Regions from separate parts of the Homo sapiens genome. Here regions 1 and 2 are each linked to region 3. The links are contacts of gene promoters, found by promoter capture Hi-C in blood cells and fetal thymus (Javierre and others, 2016). All regions are on one chromosome and are shown on one strand. The core of a region is centred on a gene start or on the middle of the fragment in contact, and the rest is flanking DNA. Distances in the headings are between cores, read along the strand shown.

What was found. Contacts are between HindIII fragments. The CHiCAGO score rates a contact against its expected background, and 5 or more counts as called.
Region 1: a contact is called between a fragment that was not itself captured here and the fragment with the promoter of TMEM132E in region 3, in 2 of 17 cell types (megakaryocytes and naive CD4 T cells). The highest score is 5.1, in megakaryocytes.
Region 2: a contact is called between a fragment that was not itself captured here and the fragment with the promoter of TMEM132E in region 3, in 1 of 17 cell types (naive CD4 T cells). The highest score is 5.3, in naive CD4 T cells.

The regions. Positions count from the first base shown.
Region 1 is chr17:34,876,402-34,879,874 of GRCh38, forward strand. All of the region lies in intron 2 of LOC105371742 (a long non-coding RNA gene), which reads right to left. Among named protein-coding and RNA genes, the nearest start is that of CCT6B, 83 kb to the right of the region's middle. The HindIII fragment of the contact is 1,632 bases long and covers 1,069-2,700 here.
Region 2 is chr17:34,908,199-34,911,680 of GRCh38, forward strand. The region is part of intron 2 of LOC105371742 (a long non-coding RNA gene); the gene reads right to left. Among named protein-coding and RNA genes, the nearest start is that of CCT6B, 52 kb to the right of the region's middle. The HindIII fragment of the contact is 2,818 bases long and covers 635-3,452 here.
Region 3 is chr17:34,578,270-34,581,791 of GRCh38, forward strand. TMEM132E (transmembrane protein 132E) reads left to right here and starts at 1,313. Exons shown (of 9, transcript NM_001304438.2): 1 at 1,313-2,874. The coding sequence starts at 2,808. It overlaps TMEM132E-DT (TMEM132E divergent transcript), which reads right to left and starts at 1,100. Exons shown (of 2, transcript NR_160787.1): 1 at 602-1,100. RefSeq lists enhancers at 265-801, 802-1,337. The HindIII fragment of the contact is 10,264 bases long and covers 1-3,522 here.

The sequences.
Region 1 (3,473 bases), core at 635-3,134, 300 kb after region 3:
ACACCCCTGTAAACCTTCTGCACACAAATTTAGTTCTCCAGAATCTGTTTGCAGGAGAAACTGACCTATGGCAGTCACAGAGCTTGAACACAGCGGAACTGGGATTCTAATTCAAATGGGATTGACTCGGACACCATTACTCTTTCTGTTCTTCCACAATGCCTCTGCCTTGCCTTTGATCAGTCATGGTGGGTTAGGGTCTGGGGATCCCCAGGTGAATATGACACAGGCCTTGTCTTTAGGATATCCTATTCCTCTGGAAGAAGCAGTTCCTCAGGAACAGGGTGCCAAGGGCAGAGCAGATGCTGGAGGAACCCATGGGCAGCCCCACTGGCATAGGCTATCTTGGGATCTAGACCACAGCAATGCCCCTGCCAAAGGTCAACAAGACAGGTCCTCTGCTCCAGGCTCAGAGCCTACAACCTCCAGAGAGGATCTCAGCCAGCAGGGCTTACAGCAGGCACTGCTACATGAGTCCCCTGCGGTAAACATGGACCAAAAGCCACCTAGGTGTCTGTTTTTTTGGAAAAGGATGTAGAATTCCCAGTCCCTGGCTGGGTCCCTGCAGGCTCAGCTTAATTCTCAGCTCCTTGAAGGCCTAATATCCTCTTAAATGTCCTTCTTCCAGCTTCTCCTGAGGTTTGGCGCTGCTCTGATGACCACCTTTATCTTTTCTGCAGTTTCTCTCCATTCTCTCCTGTGGCTCCGCCTGTTCCTGGGAGTCTCAAGAAACTCTCCAAACATACTCGCCCTGTCTCCTATGATTCCACTGCCCAGTGCCACTTCCCAGGCCTCTATCACGCCTCTCAGATGCTCAACAAGTATCAGAAAGGAGAAAGGGAGACAGGAAGGAAAGGAGGAAACAGAAAGGGAGGAAAAGGGAAGAGCAGTTGTTGAGGGAAATGTGAAGAAAGATCAAATGATAGGGATGCCCTATATTTATCTGTTTTAATGTCTCAGGCCTCCAAAGCATCATTTAGTGTTTCTCCAAACACTGTCATCCTCCAAGGCAGGTCCCTTGCCTTCAGTTCACAGCTGGAAACACTGGGCCTCAAGAAAAAGGGAGAAAGCTTTCCTGAGTACATTCCGAAGCAGCAGCAAGTGATTCAGATCTTGGGCATCCTAATTGCCTGGCAATGCTGAGACCCTGGGTGTGAAGTACTAATGGGCAGATTCCACCCACGTAATGATCAGAGAGTGGTGAACAGATGCTTGCAGGCAGATCAGAGCCACATCAGCAGGAGCGGGAGTCACTCCAGGCATTCTTCACATCCCCTGCTGGCTTCAGGTAAGGGCCGCTGGGCCTCAGGAGAGGCACAGTTTCTGGGGGAAACCACAGCCCTGGTGCCTTCAGGGAACAGAGAGTACATGCACTCTCTGCTATCCAGCGCTGGCTTCAGAGGCTAAAAGGCTGAGGCCTAGCTCCAGCTCGTCCTCCTATTTGCTATGTAGCCTTGGCCAAGTCTCTTTCCTATTCTGGCCTCCGTCTTCCTGCCTGTAAAATGTGAAGGGTGGATGCAGTGGTTTCTGAGGGACCTCCAGAAGGGAGACCTCCAGGATCCAGGGCCCACCAGGTGAGAGACACACGTGGACCAGCCCCACATTGAGGCTCACTCAGTCCCCTCATGGGGTTGAACACCAACCTCGAAAAACCAGAGGCAGCTGGAGCCCCTCAAGGTACCTGGCCTAGTCCCCCTCGATTTCCTCCAGGTCTGTGCATCTAGACTCCTGGTTCTGGGGCTGGGCCCTGAACCTCTCTTAGCTGTAGAAGAGGAGGAAGAGAAAGACTAACACTTGCTAAGCACCTCTTCTGGGCTGGGCACAGAACCATTGGCTTTTACACACATTTCTTGCTGGGATCCCCCCAGTGAGTGGTCTTATCCCCACCTGAAAAATCTAAGGTTCAGGGAAGTTAAGTAACTTGCTCAACATCACCCAGCTCTTGGTTGCCAAGGTCAGAATTCCAGCCTGGAGCAGTGCATGTTTACCTTTGCATTGTCAGAGAAGTCATTTGCCATCAGATCCCATCCCTTTCCTCTCCAAACCAAAGATCCCCTGTGCATTTTGGAAGAGGAAGACAGCATGTTGCCCTGAGAATCCAGGTTTCAGGGCTCATGTGAGAGGAGGTCAGACATAATGGAAGAAACCCAGGCTCTGGGGGCAGCAGCCTTGAGGTTGGGTCCTGACTCTGCTACCTGCTAACTAGGTAAACTTGAGCAAGTTATAACCTCAATTTTCTTATCTGTAATGAAAGGATATTAATATCTGCTGCATGGAGTTGTTGCAGTAATTGAGCCTGACAATGGATATAAAAATATCTGGCATAGAATATGTGTTGGATAAATACAACCCTCCTTCCATTTCTGCACAGCCCAGCTTCTCTTAGGCTCAAGTTCTGATTCTCTCTCATATTTTAAGCCCTGAGGGATGGGCTTGGATACATTTACTCTAGCAAAATGTCTCTATCATAAAGGCAAGCTCAAGAAAGTGGTTTTCTTCCTCTGCCCCCGGCCACAGAACCCCATCAAGGAGGCACAGTGCAGGCAGTGGCCTCGGAAGCAGAGCTGGCCATAGCAGGCGCTGCCTTCCTCCCCCAAGCCTCAGAGCTTGCCATCTCTATGCCTTCCCCTTCAAGCTGAAAGCTGGCACACAGGCACCACAAGCCAGATGTTTGAGTTTTGTTAAGAGCAGCTTAAATAAAGCTTTTAGAACAATAATTCTCAGCCATCAAAGGGACATTTCTCTTCTGGCTTCATCTCTGACACACAGGAGATTTTTAAAAGAAGAAACAGGGGAGGAAAACAACGCCTCTACAAAGCAGGAACATTTTTAAAAGCACAGCGATTTTGCCATCATGCTCTAGCCTTTCTGATATCTCCAATGAAAGAGGAAAGGAATTTCGTGGAAGAGCCAATTTTTCCCAGCTCTTGGCACACATCTGGAGCCCCAGAAGTGTCTGGGGGAAGCTGAACAGGTGGTGGCCATCTGACAAGCCCCCTAAGGCAGAGTTTAAAGAGACATACACTTGGATGACATTGCCAAGTTGGGAAGTTTGCCTCTCTCTCCCTTCTGACACCTCTTCTTCTCCCAATCAAGACTTTGCCAAGAGTGTGCTTTAGGAAGGGACAAAGCCCACCCCTCCAACTCCATGCAAGAGGGCACCTGGGAGAGGGACCTGAGGCTGGATGCCCCTTGTAGCCTAGAGTTCTCCTTCCCAAGGAAGGTGATAGTAAAGGGAACACAGAAGGTAACACCACCCAGAAGGTTGGCATACACATGGTTGCAAACGCTTCCAAGAGCCAGGTACAACACATCATTGTCATGGTATAAGTATCTACTGCTAGGAGTTGAAGACCAGATTCCTAGAGACTCTGCTAAGCCTGACGTAGCTTTAAAACAAACCCTGCCTGGTAAGAGCCATTGGAGGAATCACCTGCTCAAAAATGAAACAAGGCTTTCAATAATGATCAAAT
Region 2 (3,482 bases), core at 794-3,293, 330 kb after region 3:
CCTTCCCTCCACTATTGTCCTATGACCCTGCCAAATCCCCCTCTGCGAGAAACACCCAAGAATGATCAAGAAAAAAAAAAAAGAGGGGTGGCAGAGAACCACCTGGCCCAGCCCTTAGTATGAGGCTCCTCTACAATGAAGTTTTTCCAAAATCAGCTACTGGGAAAGGTAAATTTTGTTGAACTGCCCAAGGACACACTAATCTTTAATTATCCTGTTAATGTCTGTCTCCCCCCAGGTAGCCATTACACAGGCAGTTACCACGATGCCCTGGCTTTAAACAGCTTGCAGATTTCCTGACAGTATTAATGGAAGTTTTGCAAATTGATTTGGGGAGATTAGATGGAGGGAGGCTGCCATGACTTAACATGAAGCCCATTCTAATTGGCTCAGATCCTCCTGTCTTTGATCCCTGGCCAGGGCAAAAGGAAAGAACAGGAGTCAGGGGACCCAGGTTCCAGGCCTGGCTCTCCTGAAGGAAACTTGTGACCTTGGGCCTGCCACTTCTCACCGTGCCTCTTCCTTAAAATGACTGGGTTGGACTAATGTAGACTCATTAAGTGGTCTCTCCTTTCATGATTTCTCTGATTTCTATGAATTAGAGGCTGGCAGAATGGCTCACCTTAGAGGAACAAGCTTCCTTCCTTCCTTCTTTCCTTCATCCATTTATTCACTCACCTCTTCACTCCATACATATGATTGAGGATCTATATGAGGCTCTGCAGGAGGCACCAGGAACAGAGATGAATTAGCTGCTTCTGGCTGGCAATAAAGACATGCTCAGGAAAATCAAAGGCAAGCAGTGCCCACCATGGACTGGGCTAGGTTGGCATTCTGGGTTCAGGGTATACTGTCCCTGCCTCCACCATCGCCTCTGCTCCAAAAAGACCCAGAGGAGGGGAGAACCGGAAGAGAAGTGTGATGGGAGAATTGGCCTTGGTGCCAGAGGCCTGGATGCTGGAACCAGCTCTGGCTTGAATCGCTGTGTGATCTGGAGCCACCTTCTGTTTCTAACCATCAGTTTCCTTCCCTGAAAATGGGGAAGTGGGGATGATAATTCTTATTCTGCCTCACTGCAGGGTAGTCAAAAAGAGCGTAATTAGTGAGCCCCAGGGCCTTTTGTATATGGATTGGGGGAGAAGGGCTACCATCTTTTCCATTGCCAGGGAGCTGCCCTGTCTGTCTCCAAGGAATCCAGCCACGAGACAGAGTACCCACAGGCCAGGCCCTGGGCTGAAATTTCCACCACACCCAGCCCCCATCTCATAAGTGACAGTGACCTCAAACTTTTAAAATATTCCCAGGGAGACAGGCAGGACAAGAACAATGGGGAATGGTCCTAGAGCCGAGGAAAGCAGAGTGACAGCCAGGAGAAAGGCCCGGGGTCTGTCCTGCTCCCCACAGAGGGCCCTTGGTGGGGGGCCCGGACCCTCGAGCACATCCCCAACACTAAACCATCCCATTGCTGAGAGCCAGGGGCCCATCTGGACTCTAGTAACCCAGGGAGGTGAAGTAGCTCACTTGGGGAAGTGCCCCTGGTCCCACACCCAGTGGGGGCAGAGTTAGGATTCTCAGAGTTAGGGGCCCTCTGGCTCCCCCCATGCACAAGGTGTGCTCCTCTAAGCTGGGCCCTTCTATGTTTCTGTCCTTATCTTTCTAGCAGCCAGCATCTACGTCTCAGCTCCTCCCTCCCGCTATCCGCCAGAGGCTGGAGTGCCTTCACTCCAGCAAGCTGGCAAAACCACATGCCTCCTCCTAAATTCTGCCAACACCACGGTCCCCAACTCCAGAGCTTCTGCTGGCTCTGGGCTCATCATACTCACCTCTCCACCATCACTGCCAACAGCAGCAAGAAGGGTTTATGGGGCTGGGTTTTATTCGAAAAATATGTTTTCAATTAAAGTTGAGAAGTATGAGAGAATGCTGCCTTAGGCAGGCAGCCCCTCTCTGAGGCTTCCTTAAACAGACGGTTTGTAGCATTTTTAATTAATGAGAGGTGGTACAGATGGGGGCCCTTAATAGCCTGCAGCAAAATGTGGAGGCTGGGGAGGGGAGGGAGGTGACACTAAGCAGGCTCTGGGCCAGGGAGGGAGCCCAGCCCTTCAGCCCTGTCTCCTCCACACTGGCCTCCCTGGCGGCCTTGAGAAGAAGACCGCGCACCCTGGATTCTCTCTCCCCTGCACCCGCATGCGAGAAACGAGGGAGGTGGAAACATGCTGCTGTGCACAAATCAAACGGTCCTGAAGGGTGTTTGCAGACCTTGCTTTAAGAATCTCACACCCCTCTATCCCCAGATCTCTACCTTGAGCAAGCCTTAGTATCCTCGTGGGCAAGACAGGATTGGGGAATCCTAAACCTCCAGGCTTGAAAGGATTACAAAGTCCATGTAATTCAACCCAGGCACTTGCATAGCTACCAAAACTCTCCTGCCAAGAGGTGGCCTGGTCTCCGAGGCCAGGGTCCTCATTACTTCCCAGAGTCATTCCAAAGCCAGTGTTACCTGCGGTCAACTCTTGTTAGAAAACAAGGGGAACTCTGCCTCCCTGAGTTAATTATTATATTTGTGAAGATTAAGAGAAGACAATGTATATGGAGTTGCTTTGAACACTGACTGAAGCTATTTTTAATTATTGAAGCAGAGGATCTGGAGCCAAGAGAGGAGAATGTAGGAGTCCGCTAAGACAGGGGCTCCACACAGCATCCCAACCTTGGCTGTGGAAGCCCACTGCAACCAGCCTCCCCGACCCTATCCCACCCTAGAGTCTGTCCACACCTCCTGGAGTATTTGCTCATCCCTCAAAAAGAAAGCATGGCCAGAGATGGAGTACGTAGGTCAGCCTTAACCATTTACTCAATCAGTAAAATTCCCCAGACGTGCCAGGGAGAAATCCACTGGGAACAGAGAGCATATTCCAATCTGATTTGGGGGGAGATGAACAATGAACAAATCCAGGATTTTATTTAATAGTGATGACTGTTCCAAATAAAATAAAGCAGAAGATACAGAACATGGCAGGAGATGGAGCTGTTTTTTTAAAAAAGAAAGGGTAACTAAGTTGAGTTGGGGGAGTAAGCCCTGTGAGAGTCTGGGGAAAGAGTGTTCTTGGCTAAGAGAAAAGTTGGCTGGGCACGGTGGCTCATGCCTGTAATCCCAGCATTTTGGGAGGCCGAGGTAGGAGGATCACCTGAGGTCAGGAGTTCAAGACCAGCCTGGCCAACATGGTGAAACCCCCCCTCTCTACTACAAATACAAAAATTAGCTGGGCATGGTGGCACGCACCTGTAATCCCAGCTACTCAGGAGGCTGAGGTAGGAGAATTGCTTGAATCCCAGAGGCAGAGGTTGCAGTGTGCTGAGATCATACCACTAAGCTCCAGCCTGGGCGACAAGAGCAAAACTCCGTCTCTGAAAGAAAAAAAAAAAAGTCAGGGAAAGTTCCCAAGACAGAAACAAGCTTGACAGGAGGAACAGCAGGAGGGCCA
Region 3 (3,522 bases), core at 63-2,562:
CAGCCCTCTACAGGCCCCAGTACCAAGCGAGGCAGCAACAGCCAGCAGCCAGGGAGGAGGAAGCCTTCCATGAAAAATGCAAGCACATTTTCCAAAAACAAAATGTCACCGTCCTAGATGAAAGGAAACTCTCAGGGTCAAGAGGGCTAGCATGGAGTCAGGCAGATGGAGGGCACGGTTTGAGTGCCCCAGCTGGCTTTGCTCTGACCTGGCCCCACACTCTCACTCCAGTTGAGTGCAGAGGTATGGAAGGGTGACCCTCAAGATCCATATCCTCCCCAGTAGGGATATGTCCATGGGATTGAAGACCCTGTCCCTCCAGAGCAGGGTAGGATTGAAATTCACCCTCTGGGGATTGGAGTTGATACCCAACGAAGCTATAAAATCATTGCCATGGATCCGATGCCTGGTTGACAGATGAGGTGTGAAGGTTGACTTGCCGGGTCTGATCTAGGTTGCACTCTAATGGAAAGGGCCTGATGGTGGGAACAGATATCACTCCAGCCACCCCTCCCGCTAGTCAGCAGGTGCCTGGGTGAGTATGCAAGAGGGGCAGTTCCCCACCCCCACCTCATGCCTCTTTAAAGGCTTGCTAAACAACCTGTAGGAAAGCACTGTCCCCTCCTCTTCTCCGTCTTCCTTCCCCAGCAACAGAATAAATAGGTTTCCCACAGCTGCGCCCCGGACCCATCCCGCACGAAGCTGAGCCCCAGAGCCCCCGCGGCCCGAGAGGAGCTGGGCACAGCAGCGAGGCTGATTCCCAGCCAGTGCCCAGCGAACTCTGGGGGTGGGGGTAGGGTGCCCCCTACCCGCGCCTCTGGAAGAGCGGCTGCAAAACACCTCCGGCGCCCGGTGGGGAGCGTGCATCCTTTGAAAAGGGACATCAGTGACTGCGGTGGCGTCTACCCTGGAGAAACGCAGCTGAGGGAGGTGGAGGCTCCTCCCGCCGCAGCTGGCCGGCCCCATTCGGGTCCCAGCGCTAGCCGGCGTTGGGAAGGAAAAATCAAACATAAAATAGGGGCGAGCGGAATCGCGAGGTCGGCCCTTGGCCCGAGTCTCATTAAGGAGCCGCGCGCGCCGCCAGGCTAGGAATGCGGAATGGACACGTGGACAGAGGAGGGGGAGCTAGGAGTCGGGGAGTCTCCGTGGCGCGCGAGCTGTGGGCCGCGCGCTCGGGGGCCACGTGACCACGGGGAATCTGGGAGGGGTGGGAGTGAGCGCGCCAAGCTCGGCGCCCGCTTCTGCCCGGGTGGGCGCTGAATCCCGGACGGAGGAGGAGGGCGGGCGAGCGCGAGTGTGTGTGTCTCTCTCGAGTCATTTACGGCGGAGCAGCCGGCGCGAGCGCCGAGGAGGCGGCGACGGCGGCGGCGGCTGCTTCGTGCAACTGTGGCTTCCCCCACCTCCTCTTCCTTTTTGCTCCTCGATTCTTCTTCTTCCCCCACACACGTCCATGGGGAGCCGGCTCCCCTGCCAGCACCTCCTCTCCTCTCGGCCCCGTAGGCACCAGCTGCCGCTTCCCTGGCCGCAAGCTGCGCAGGTGCCGGCTGCCCTGGCCCCTGGCGCCGCGCCCGCGTCTCACCGCCCGCAGCCCGGACTGGCGCGGCGATCCGCTCGCCCAAACTGACTCGGAGGGAGCGGGAGCCGATGCCCGGCAGCATCGAGACAGCGGGCGAACGGGCGTCCGGGGACAGGGTGGGGGCGGCGGGGAGGAGGCGTCGGAGACTCTGAACCCCAGAAAAGTTCAAGGTTTGTGCAGGTTCCCCCAGGGAAGGCGAGGAGCGAGGCGGGGCAGCGCGCCTCTCTGCCGAGACAGCGAGACCTTAGCGGGGTGGCCCGGAGCTGCCGTGAGCTGCAGGAGCCCCTCTGCATCTTACAGCGTTTATGGTCATCAAGCTGGAGTCGACGTCCTGGGCAGGAAGGGCTCGGGGCAGGGCGCATTAGCCGGCTTTCTCGCTCCCTCGCTTCTCCAAGCCCCATCTACATGGGGCAGCCCGTTCTGGCCGCGCCACCCTTGCCCCAGCCGCCGAGCGGCTGCCTGGGCAGGAGGCGCTGAGCCGGCCTGTGTGGAGCCTGGGCCCTGATCCAGACTGGAGAAAGCGCGCTGGAGCGGAGGAGCGAGCCTTGCGAGGGGACAAACATCTGGCCGCCCGCCTCGGGCATCCGGTCTGGGCGTCGCCTAGGGTGGTGGCGACCGGCGTCGCCAGTTTCAGCACCGCACGGAAACTTTTCCTTCTCCAGATGGATTAAAGTTGTCTGGATTTTCTCTTTCTTTGAGAAAGACAGCATTCATTTGCACCTGACCTGGGATTTTTATGCTGGGCTGCTGCAGGGGCTTGGAGGAAGAAAGCGGCGCTATCCATGTGCGGTTACTACCGAAACCGAGGAAACTGGGGATTGCGTTGGAAGTCGGCACCCTCGAGTGAGTTCGGATTCGAGCTGGGCCGTGAGGCCGGGAGATTCAGCACTGGGCTCTAGGTAGCCCCCGGGACGCCCGCGGCCACCGGGCTCCGGACTGCACGTGCAGCTCCCCCCGCGCCTCGCAGATCCTGCAGGGGGCACCAGCTGGGGGAGGTGGAGGCTCCTCCCGCCCGGAGCTGCGCCCCCACCGGCTCCGAGGGTGTAGCCGCCAGCGCCTGGGACGCCCCCTCCCCGCAAAGTGTCCCCGAATTGCACTCTCTGGTCCCGGAGCTGCATCTGAGACAGCCGGGCGCCACGGCAGCCCTGAGTTGGATGTGACCAAGCCCAGCCTGGGGCCAAGTCGTCGTCGACTGTTGCTCTCTCGGACCCCTCCCGCCCCCGCCTCGGCCATGGCCCCGGGGATGTCGGGCCGCGGCGGCGCCGCCCTGCTCTGCCTCTCAGCGCTACTCGCCCACGGTAAGTGTCGCGGCGCGGACTGGGGGTGAGGATGCGGCAGGCGCCACTGGAGGGGGTACGGGGAAGACTGGGGAGAGGAGCACCCACACCCCCTGGACTCGCAGCCGCCACTCCGGGTTTGGCGTCTCTGGCTGCAGCTCGAGTTACCGCCAGCCCCCGAGCCCTCCGGCGAGCTCAGCTGAGGGGACCGAGCCCGGCGCCAGAAAAGGGTGGGGGGAGGGTGTCGCTCCAGTCCTCTCCTGGTTATAAAGAAGGGTTCGAACCCGAAGGTCTGGGGTCGTGTCCGCCCACGGAAATCTAGAGGGATCCGAGGGATCCTCCGGATCGCGTCCAGGCCGCCCCCCGCCCCCGTCTCTCCCTGCAGCCGGCCGGGCTGGGGGCTGTTGGGATCCGCCGGGATCGCGTCTTTCCTCGCCCCGGGCGCGCAGGCCGGTGCGGGGCCGCGCCGCCCGTCGCCTCGCTTCCTGCGGCGGTCCTCGGGAAGGGAAGTGGACTGACTCCGGGCCGGGGAGCCGCCGCGGCTCGCACGCCCGCGGTCCTGTGAGCTGCATCTAAATGGCCGGCTTAGGCGAGCCCGGAGGGCGGGGGTCTGGGCACCCGCACAGGCCGGGGCGGTGGGCCGCGGGCCGCGCGCGGAGGGAGCGGGCT